Regions from separate parts of the Homo sapiens genome. Here all the other regions are linked to region 1. Evidence: promoter capture Hi-C in human tissues and cell types (Jung and others, 2019). All regions are on one chromosome and are shown on one strand. The core of a region is centred on a gene start or on the middle of the fragment in contact, and the rest is flanking DNA. Distances in the headings are between cores, read along the strand shown.

Evidence for each region. The method cuts DNA at HindIII sites, captures the fragments that hold promoters and counts their contacts. A contact is called where the count stands out against the background at its distance.
Region 2: a contact is called between a fragment that was not itself captured here and the fragment with the promoter of DNTTIP2 in region 1, in 1 of the 25 tissues and cell types used here (hippocampus).
Region 3: a fragment that was not itself captured here is called in contact with the fragment with the promoter of DNTTIP2 in region 1 in 1 of the 25 tissues and cell types used here (heart right ventricle).

The regions. Positions count from the first base shown.
Region 1 is chr1:93,877,909-93,880,608 of GRCh38, forward strand. DNTTIP2 (deoxynucleotidyltransferase terminal interacting protein 2) reads right to left here and starts at 1,298. Exons shown (of 7, transcript NM_014597.5): 1 at 1,169-1,298. The coding sequence starts at 1,240. RefSeq lists enhancers at 1,024-1,453, 1,305-2,120. The HindIII fragment of the contact is 10,129 bases long and covers 1-2,700 here.
Region 2 is chr1:93,659,194-93,661,893 of GRCh38, forward strand. All of the region lies in intron 2 of BCAR3 (BCAR3 adaptor protein, NSP family member), which reads right to left. Among named protein-coding and RNA genes, the nearest start is that of BCAR3, 21 kb to the right of the region's middle. RefSeq lists an enhancer at 2,692-2,700. The HindIII fragment of the contact is 4,330 bases long and covers 1-2,700 here.
Region 3 is chr1:93,633,029-93,635,728 of GRCh38, forward strand. All of the region lies in intron 3 of BCAR3 (BCAR3 adaptor protein, NSP family member), which reads right to left. Among named protein-coding and RNA genes, the nearest start is that of BCAR3-AS1, 42 kb to the left of the region's middle. The HindIII fragment of the contact is 5,755 bases long and covers 1-2,700 here.

The DNA.
Region 1 (2,700 bases), core at 48-2,547:
AGGGCAAAGCAAATGAAATACTGACCCCAAAAGCTAAAACCCAGTAAACAAGATTACCTTTAAAACAAAAAACAAAAAAACCTGCCCAACTCATGATTTTTAAAAAATCAAAATTTGGCCGGGCGCGGTGGCTTACGGCTGTAATCCCAGCACTCTGGGAGGCCGAGGCAGGTGGATCACGAGGTCAGGAGTTCGAGACAGCTTGGCCAACATAGTGAAACCCCATCTCTACTCAAAGTAAAAAAATTAGCGGGGCGTGTTGGTGCGCACCTGTAATCCCAACTACTCAGGAGCCTGAGGCAGAAGAATTGTTGGAATCCGGGAGGCAGAAGTTGCAGTGAGCCGAGGCTGCGCCACTGCACTCTAGCCTGGGCGACAGAGCAAGACTCCGAATCAAAAACAAACAAACAAAAAAATCAAAATTTAAACACTGGAGCCAACCCTGCATTTACTTCACTAGCCTCATCCTTCCTAGATGTAACTTCAGAAGCAGAACGATTAAAATTTTTCTGTTTAAAGTCAAATATAATGGGTAGACCAACATTCTGACCCACCTATAGAAGAGGGGAGAAAGGGAATATTAACTCTGAACACCGATGTGTTTAGGAACACACTGATGGAATCAGTCGCCGCCCTTACCTTTACGTACAGGAAAAAATCGCCGCCGCTCCGTTCCCTGCATCGCTGAGTCAGAATGAGACAGCCGACTAACGCCACTAAGAGTCACCAGGCGACGACACCACAGCCCTCCTCACGCCTTAAGGAGGTGATGCTGGACAGCTGCCAGCCTCCCCACGTGAAAACGAAGCTTTTTTTCCAGCCCCCCTAAATGGGGCTTGTGCATGGTGGCCGAAATTAACCCTCCTTGGTACCGTGTTAACAGTAAGGTTTAAAAGTTCGAACTGTGCTTCTGCATTAAGGAGTTGAACGACCCAAATAAAGTTATCTAACCTCTCTTCCATACTAAAAATTGCCTTAAGAGACAGTGGTGAAGGCTAAACAGTTTCCGTGACAGGCTTAGCACGGGGCCTGGGAGACCCAAGCGCGCGGCAAGCTCGGGTCCTCTCTGTCGGCAGGTCCTCACCCTTAACCGGACCCTTGCGCCGCCCCGCCTGCCTGAGCGCGGCTCTGCGAAGCGGCGAGAAGTAGGGAAGACTGGATTTCCTACCTTTTGCCCGGAACTTTCAGCCGACGCGGCTTGGATGCTGGCCTTAGCCCGTGCAGATCTGGTAACCACCATCTTTCCGGCTCCCTCGCGACCACCACGACTTCCCTCTTCCCTGGCGCTCCGGAAATGCGTCAGAGAACTGCCTCGAGCGCGTTTTCCGCGCAGATCCGAGAATTCGCGAGAATCTCCGCCCAGCCAGTTCAGGCCAGGGCGGTCAGAGACAAAGGGCCTGGGTTTAAGTGTGCATTTCAGAGCTGTAGAAGGCAAGCCAGATTTTTGCTGGGAAAGACCTTCATCGGGGCGGCGAAGCCCGCAGTGACAGAGGGTCTTAGCGTACCCGTTCACATGAATTGTAAAAACGCACTTACATGCCATTCGTTCTTTCATTTGTTTAGTAGAATCGTTTGAACCCGGGAGGCGTTCTTTCATTTCTACGTTCTAAAGAGCTTAATGTAGCCATTGGTATGTCCAAGGGAGAAGTTTGAGATATTTGTGCTTTTTAAAGAAAGACAATATTTACTCGTGTATTGTGACGCTAACTATAAATAAAATTTAAGGACTTGGTTGGGGTAAAAGGGATATAAGGTGCTCGCAGGAACTGGGAGACGAAGTGGAAAGCTGTATAATCTAAACGTGAGATGGTGTTTAGGGATTGGGAATAGCAGAAAAGAAAAAAACGTTAAAGAAATTGTAAAGGAGAAGAATAAGGTTTTGTTGTTGTTGTTGTTGTTGTTATTGTCACAGTGAAAGGAAGAGTATGACCAGAATCAAGAGGTTTCTTTGGTTATCTTTTGAGATAAAAGGTAGAGAACTATGTTTGAGGGGATGGGAAGGGGTTGAAAAAATAAGTAAACGCAAATTATTGTTGGAGGTGAGAAAGGATGAATGAGTGCCTCACCAAACCTAGTCTCTACTTCATGACAGAAAACCAATTTTTTATTTAAAGTCACAGAACACTGTGTCGATGGACACACTGCTTCCCAGCTTAAAATAGCTTATTTTATAGTCTCTCTTGCAGCCAAATGTGGCTATGTGACTACGTTTTAGCCAATTAGGTATAAATTGTGTGCATGTCTTTAGGGACGGCATCTAAAAGAGAGGAGGCCGTCCCTGACTTTTTTTTTTGGAGACGGAGTCTTGCTCTGTCGCCCAGGGTGGAGTGCAATGGCGCAATCTTGGGTCACTGCAACCTCCGCCTCCCGGGTTCAAGCGATTCTCCTGCTTCAGCCTCCTGAGTAGCTGAGATTACAGGCGCCCGCCACCATTCCTGGCTAATTTTTTTTTTGTATTTTTAGTAGAGACGGGGTTTCACCATGTTGGGCAGGCTGGTCTTGAACTCCTGCCTTCAGGTGATTCACCCGCCTCGGCCTCTCAAAGTGCTGGGATTACAGTGCTGGGATTATAGGCCTAAACGACCTCGCCCAGCCCTCCTGATCTTTTAAAGTGCATTTTACTTCCTGGAAAGTTGGGTTCGCTGGTTTTCAGGCGGCAAGTTTGTGCCATAAGGATGAAGGCATGCTTTAGAGATGGCA
Region 2 (2,700 bases), core at 176-2,675, 220 kb before region 1:
GTTGTTGAGACAGGGCCTTGCTGTTGCCCAGGCTGGAGTGCAGTGGTGCAACATTGGTTCACTGCAGCCTCGACCTAATGGGGTTAAATAAATCAATCCTCCTGACTCAGCCTCCTGAGTAGCTGAGACTACAATCGCATGCCACCATGCCTGGCTAATTTTTTTATTTTTTATTTTTTTGTAGAGATGGGGTCTTGCTATGTTGTCCAGGCTGTTCTCAAACCCCTGGGCTCAAGCAATCCTCCCTGCTCAGCCTCCCAAAATGCTGAGATTATAGGCATGAGACACCATGCCTGGCCAGCAACCGGCTTTAAGTCTATGAAGATTTTGCATCTACTGGACAATATTCCTTCTACTATAATAGAAATATATATTATATATATGGTTACATATATAAGTATAATAATGTTCTATTAGATAAGGTTATTACATGGGACAGTCTAGCATTCTCATTTTATATTTTTTAGATGACAATCACGGTTCTAAGGTCTTGCCCAACTCACCAGCCTAATCTCCTCACCTTGCTCCTTACACTCCAGCAAATTTAACTACTTGGAATTACCTGTATCAATAGGCCTGGGGTCCCCATCCTCTTCTCATTCATCCCTGGCTTCTCTGACCACACGTTCCCACCCCCACCCACACACACAACTCATACAATCAGTGACATCTCCTCAGTGCTCCTTTCCTATGAATTATAAAACTTTGTGATGACAAACAATTACAATTCGATATACCATGTGTATTCCCGTCTATGTCCCTTACTGGACTATGAGCTCACTAAGAACAGGGACCACACTGTATTCACCTTTGTACCTCCCGTGCAGTTGCTCCATGTATGTTGGTTTGAATAAATGAACGTGTGTGTGTGTGTGTGTGTGTGTGTGTGTTTTCTCTAATACGCGGAAGACCTAGACCTTCCTCCCACTACACTCTATGAGTTCACTAAGGGAATAAAACATTGGAAGGAGAGAGGGAACAAGAGAGAAATGTTGTTCTTGGATTGACAGGCCCCCTCATTAAGGAGATAATTTAGCCACAGGCCAGCGACCGAACTGTGATGGCCTCAGACAGAACTCCCTCAGCAACAGAACAGCACTGCTGCCAGAGCAGCGCCTGGCTCCCCAGCCCCAATGAGACCAGATGTTTTCAAAGTGATACTGTGAGAGGCTGGCTGATCTTGTTGAAAATGAATCTCTCTGAACATGTTTAAAATACCAGGGAGAAACTTAATCAGGGAGATAACCAAGAGAACAGACAGAGTTTACCATAGGGCCATTTCTATCTGTTTACCAGGAAAAAGAGAAAACAAACAGGCTTAAAATGGGACACGCCTGGTGAGTGCAGAAATGACATTTTTGGAAAAATATCAGCTAGTGTGTGCTTAGATTAGCAGGTTATTTACTGATGTTGGGAATCATATTAAGGTCCCAATAAAGAGTTACTTTCTTACTGCAGGCAGGGGAATATTGTGCATATAGCCTTTGCTAAATTTAAAAGCAATGTAGCTAGCTTGCTTATTTATTTGTTTGTTTGTTTGATACAGAGTCTCGCAATGTTGCCCAGCCCAGAGTGCAATGGCACGATCTTGACTTACTGCAACCTCTGCCACCCAGGTTCAAGCGATTCTCCTGCCTCAGCCTCCCAAGTAGCTGGGATTACAGGCGCCCGCCACCATGCCTGGATAATTTCTTTTTTTTTAGACGGAGTTTCACTCTTGTTGCCCAGGCTGGAGTGCAATTGCACGATCTTGGCTCACTACAACCTCCACCTCCCGGGTTCAAGTGATTCTCCTGCCTCAGCCTCCCAAATAGCTGGGATTACAGGCACCCGCCACCATGCCTGGCTAATTTCTTTTTTTTTGAGATGGAGTTTTGCTCTTGTTGCCCAGGCTGGAGTGCAATGGCATGATCTCCGCTCACCACAACCTCCGCCTCCCGGGTTCAAGTGATTCTCCTGCCTCAGCCTCCCGAGTAGGTGGGATTACAGGGATGCGCCACCACGCCCTGCTAATTTTATAGTTTTAGTAGAGACGGGGTTTCTTCATGTTGGTCAGGTTGGTCTTGAACTCCCAACCTCAGGTGATCCACCCACCTCAGCCTCCCAAAGTGCTGGGATTACAGGTGTAAGCCACTGCACCCGGCCTACAAATTTTTGTATTTTTAGTAGAGACGGTATGGGTTTCACCATGTTGACCAGGCTGGTCTCGAACTCCTGACCTCAAGTGATCTGCCAGCCTTGGCCTCTCAAAATGCTGGCATTACAGGGGTGAGCCACCATACCTGGCCCAGTGTAGCTTTTTTTTTTTTTTGAGACGAAGTTTCGCTCTGTTGCCCCAGGCTGGATTACAATGGTGCAATCTCCGCTCACTGCAACCTCTGCCTCCCGAGCTCCAGAGATTCTCCTGCCTCTGCCTCCCAAGTAGCTGGGATTACAGGCATGTATCACCACACCCGGCTAAATTTTTTTGTATTTAATAGAGACGGGGTTTCACCCTGTTGGTCAGGCTGGTCTCGAACTCCTGACCTCAGGTGATCCACCCACCTTGGCCTCCCAAAGTGTTGGGATTACAGGTGTTAGCCACTGCGCCCAGCCCCAATGTAGCTTTAAACAGAGAACTATAAAACTTCTAGATGTGCGCTTAAATATTTTTGTTTCATCCCCTTGCAAAATAAATGAGAAGAGATTCAGTCTTCCACA
Region 3 (2,700 bases), core at 113-2,612, 240 kb before region 1:
CCATATTAAAATATAAAATCCACTTTTAGCTTAGTGGTCATATAAAAATAGGTGGTGGGCTAGATTTGGTCTTAGGCTATAGTTTGCTGACCCCTTGGTCTAAAGATATCCACAAATGCTCGAAGATTAACGTCACTGTGGTAACAAGGTTTCCAAATGGACATCTCCTTTCCTCCCTATTTACTGGCTTCTGGCACAATGCTAGGTACTGGTGTGGTCCCAGGAACTGCCCCTAGCTTCTCTCCCTCACCTGCACCATTTACATCCTGTTAGAATCTCTCAGCTTCCCTAATAACTGGGTCTTAATTCTATCTCTAAAAGCCCTTCACCATGTGGCCTAACTTTCCATTCCCACTGCGACTATCTCAGGTTAGGCTCCTGGTAACACTTTCTTCCCACCTGGTCTGACCTGACTGAACAATTACAAACACATGGTATATACTAAAAAATATCTGTTGAATGAGCCACTGCAGTCAAAAATCTTCAAGCTCGGCACTTTTTCCATCTCATCAAGGGTCTGGCCTCCCTGGTGTGGCCCATCTCAAAATGGAAAATTTCTCCTACTGAGGTGGCAGCACTTAAGGACTGAAATACAAGGCTTTAACTTGCCTTTTTTTGTCTGTTTTGATACACTCTGGCTCTATCGCCCAGTCTGGAGTGCAGTGGCGCAATCTTTGCTCACTGCAACCTCCACCTCTCAGGTTCAAGCAATTCTCCTGCCTCCGCCTCCCGAGTAGCTGGGATTACAGGCGCATGCCACCATGCCCGGGTAATTTTTGTATTTTTTTAGTTAGTAGTCAGGGGCTTCACCATGTTGGCCAAGCTGGTCTCGAACTCCTGACCTTGTGATCCGCCTGCCTCGGCCTCCCAAAGGGCGTGAGCCACCACACCCAGCCTAGCTTGCTTTTTAAGGTCAGGCTTATTGGGTATAATTTGCATTCAGCAAAAGTCACCCTTTTCAGTACAATTCCATGAGCACTGACAGCCAACCCCAGTTGGGTAACTACCACTACAATCACGATATTTCTATTTCTATCATCCCTGGAAGCTCCTTGGTGTACTTCATCTCTTCTCCAACCTCTTTTCAACCATTTATTTGTTTTCTGTCACTATAAGTTTTGCCTTTTCCAGAATATCATACAAATGTAATTTTAGAGTACGTAGCCTTTGAGACTGTCTACTTTCACTCAACGTAATGTATTCAAGATTCACCCATGATATGGTTTGGCTGTGTCCCCACCCAAATCTCATCTTGAATTCCCATGTGTTGTGGGAGGGACCTGGTGGGAGGTAATTGAATCATGGGGGCAGGTCTTTCCCATGCTGTTCTCATGATAGTGAATAAGTCTCATGAGATCTGATGTTTAAAATGGGGAGTTTTGGCTGGGCGCAGTGGCTCATGCCTATAATCCCAGCACTTTGGGAGGTCGAGGTGGGTGGATCATTTGAGGTCAGGAGTGCGAGACCAGGCTGGCCAACGTGGCAAAACCCCACCTCTACTAAAAATACAAAAAAAATTAGCTGGGCATGGTGGCCCAGGCCTATAATCCCAGCTACTTGGGAAGCTGAGGGAGGAGAATTGCTTGAACCGAGGAAGTGGAGGTTGCAATGAGTCAAGATCATGCCACTGCACTCCAGCCAGGGCAACACAGTGAGACTCTGTCTCAAAACAACAACAACAACAACAACAACAAAAAAAAAACGGAGTTTCCCTGCACAAGCTCTCTTCTCTTGTCTGCTGCCATGTGAGATGTGCCTTTCACCTTCCACCATGATTGTGAGGCCTCCCCAGCCATATGGAACTGTAAGTTCAATAAACCTTTTTCTTTTGTAAATTGCCCAGTCTCGGGTATGTCTTTATCAGCAGCACGAAAACAGACTAACACAATGTGTGTTTCTGCGTATATCAACAGTCCACTCCTAGGCTGGAAGCAGTGGCTCACACATGTAATCCCAGCACTTTGGGAGGCCAAGGCAGGAGGAAGGCCAGAGTTCGAGACCAGCCCAAGCACACAGGGAGACCCCATCTCTACAAAAAATAAACAAGTTAGCTGGGTGTGGTAGTGAGTGCCTGGAGTCCTAGCTACTCAGTGAGGTGGGAGGATCACCCGAGACCAGAAGTTTGAGGTTACAGTGAGCTATGATTGCACCACTGAACTCCAGCCTGGGCAACAGAATGAGACCCTGTTTCTTAAAAAAATAAGTAAATAAAAGTCCATTCCTCTTTAAGGTTAAATAATATGCCATTATATGGGTGTACTACTTTTTTCCAGTTGAAGGACTTTGGGGTTGTCTCCAGTTTTTGTTTTTGTCAATTACGAATAATGTCACTATAAACATGCATATAGACTTTTATACGGACATGTGTTTTCATAAGGTTTTACTCTTTATAAATGGCCACATTTTCATAGACCTGAAGGATAAGATTCCACTGAATGAGGGAGACTGTCATCCATACCTAGGATGTGGGAACATCCTACCTCAGCATTTTTAATAACTGTAGTAACACCGAACCTCCCAAGAATATTTGCAGAGAATGTTTTTGGGGTGGAGTGGAAGAAGTTGGATGGGAGCTCCCTTTCGTCCCTCTGCATGTGGGCCCCAGAGCGGGCCAGGGCTGTTTTACATTCACTGCTGGCGGTGTTTGATCTCTGGTCCCACAGGGGATGGCGCTGGCTCTGCCAATGTGCACACTCAGGC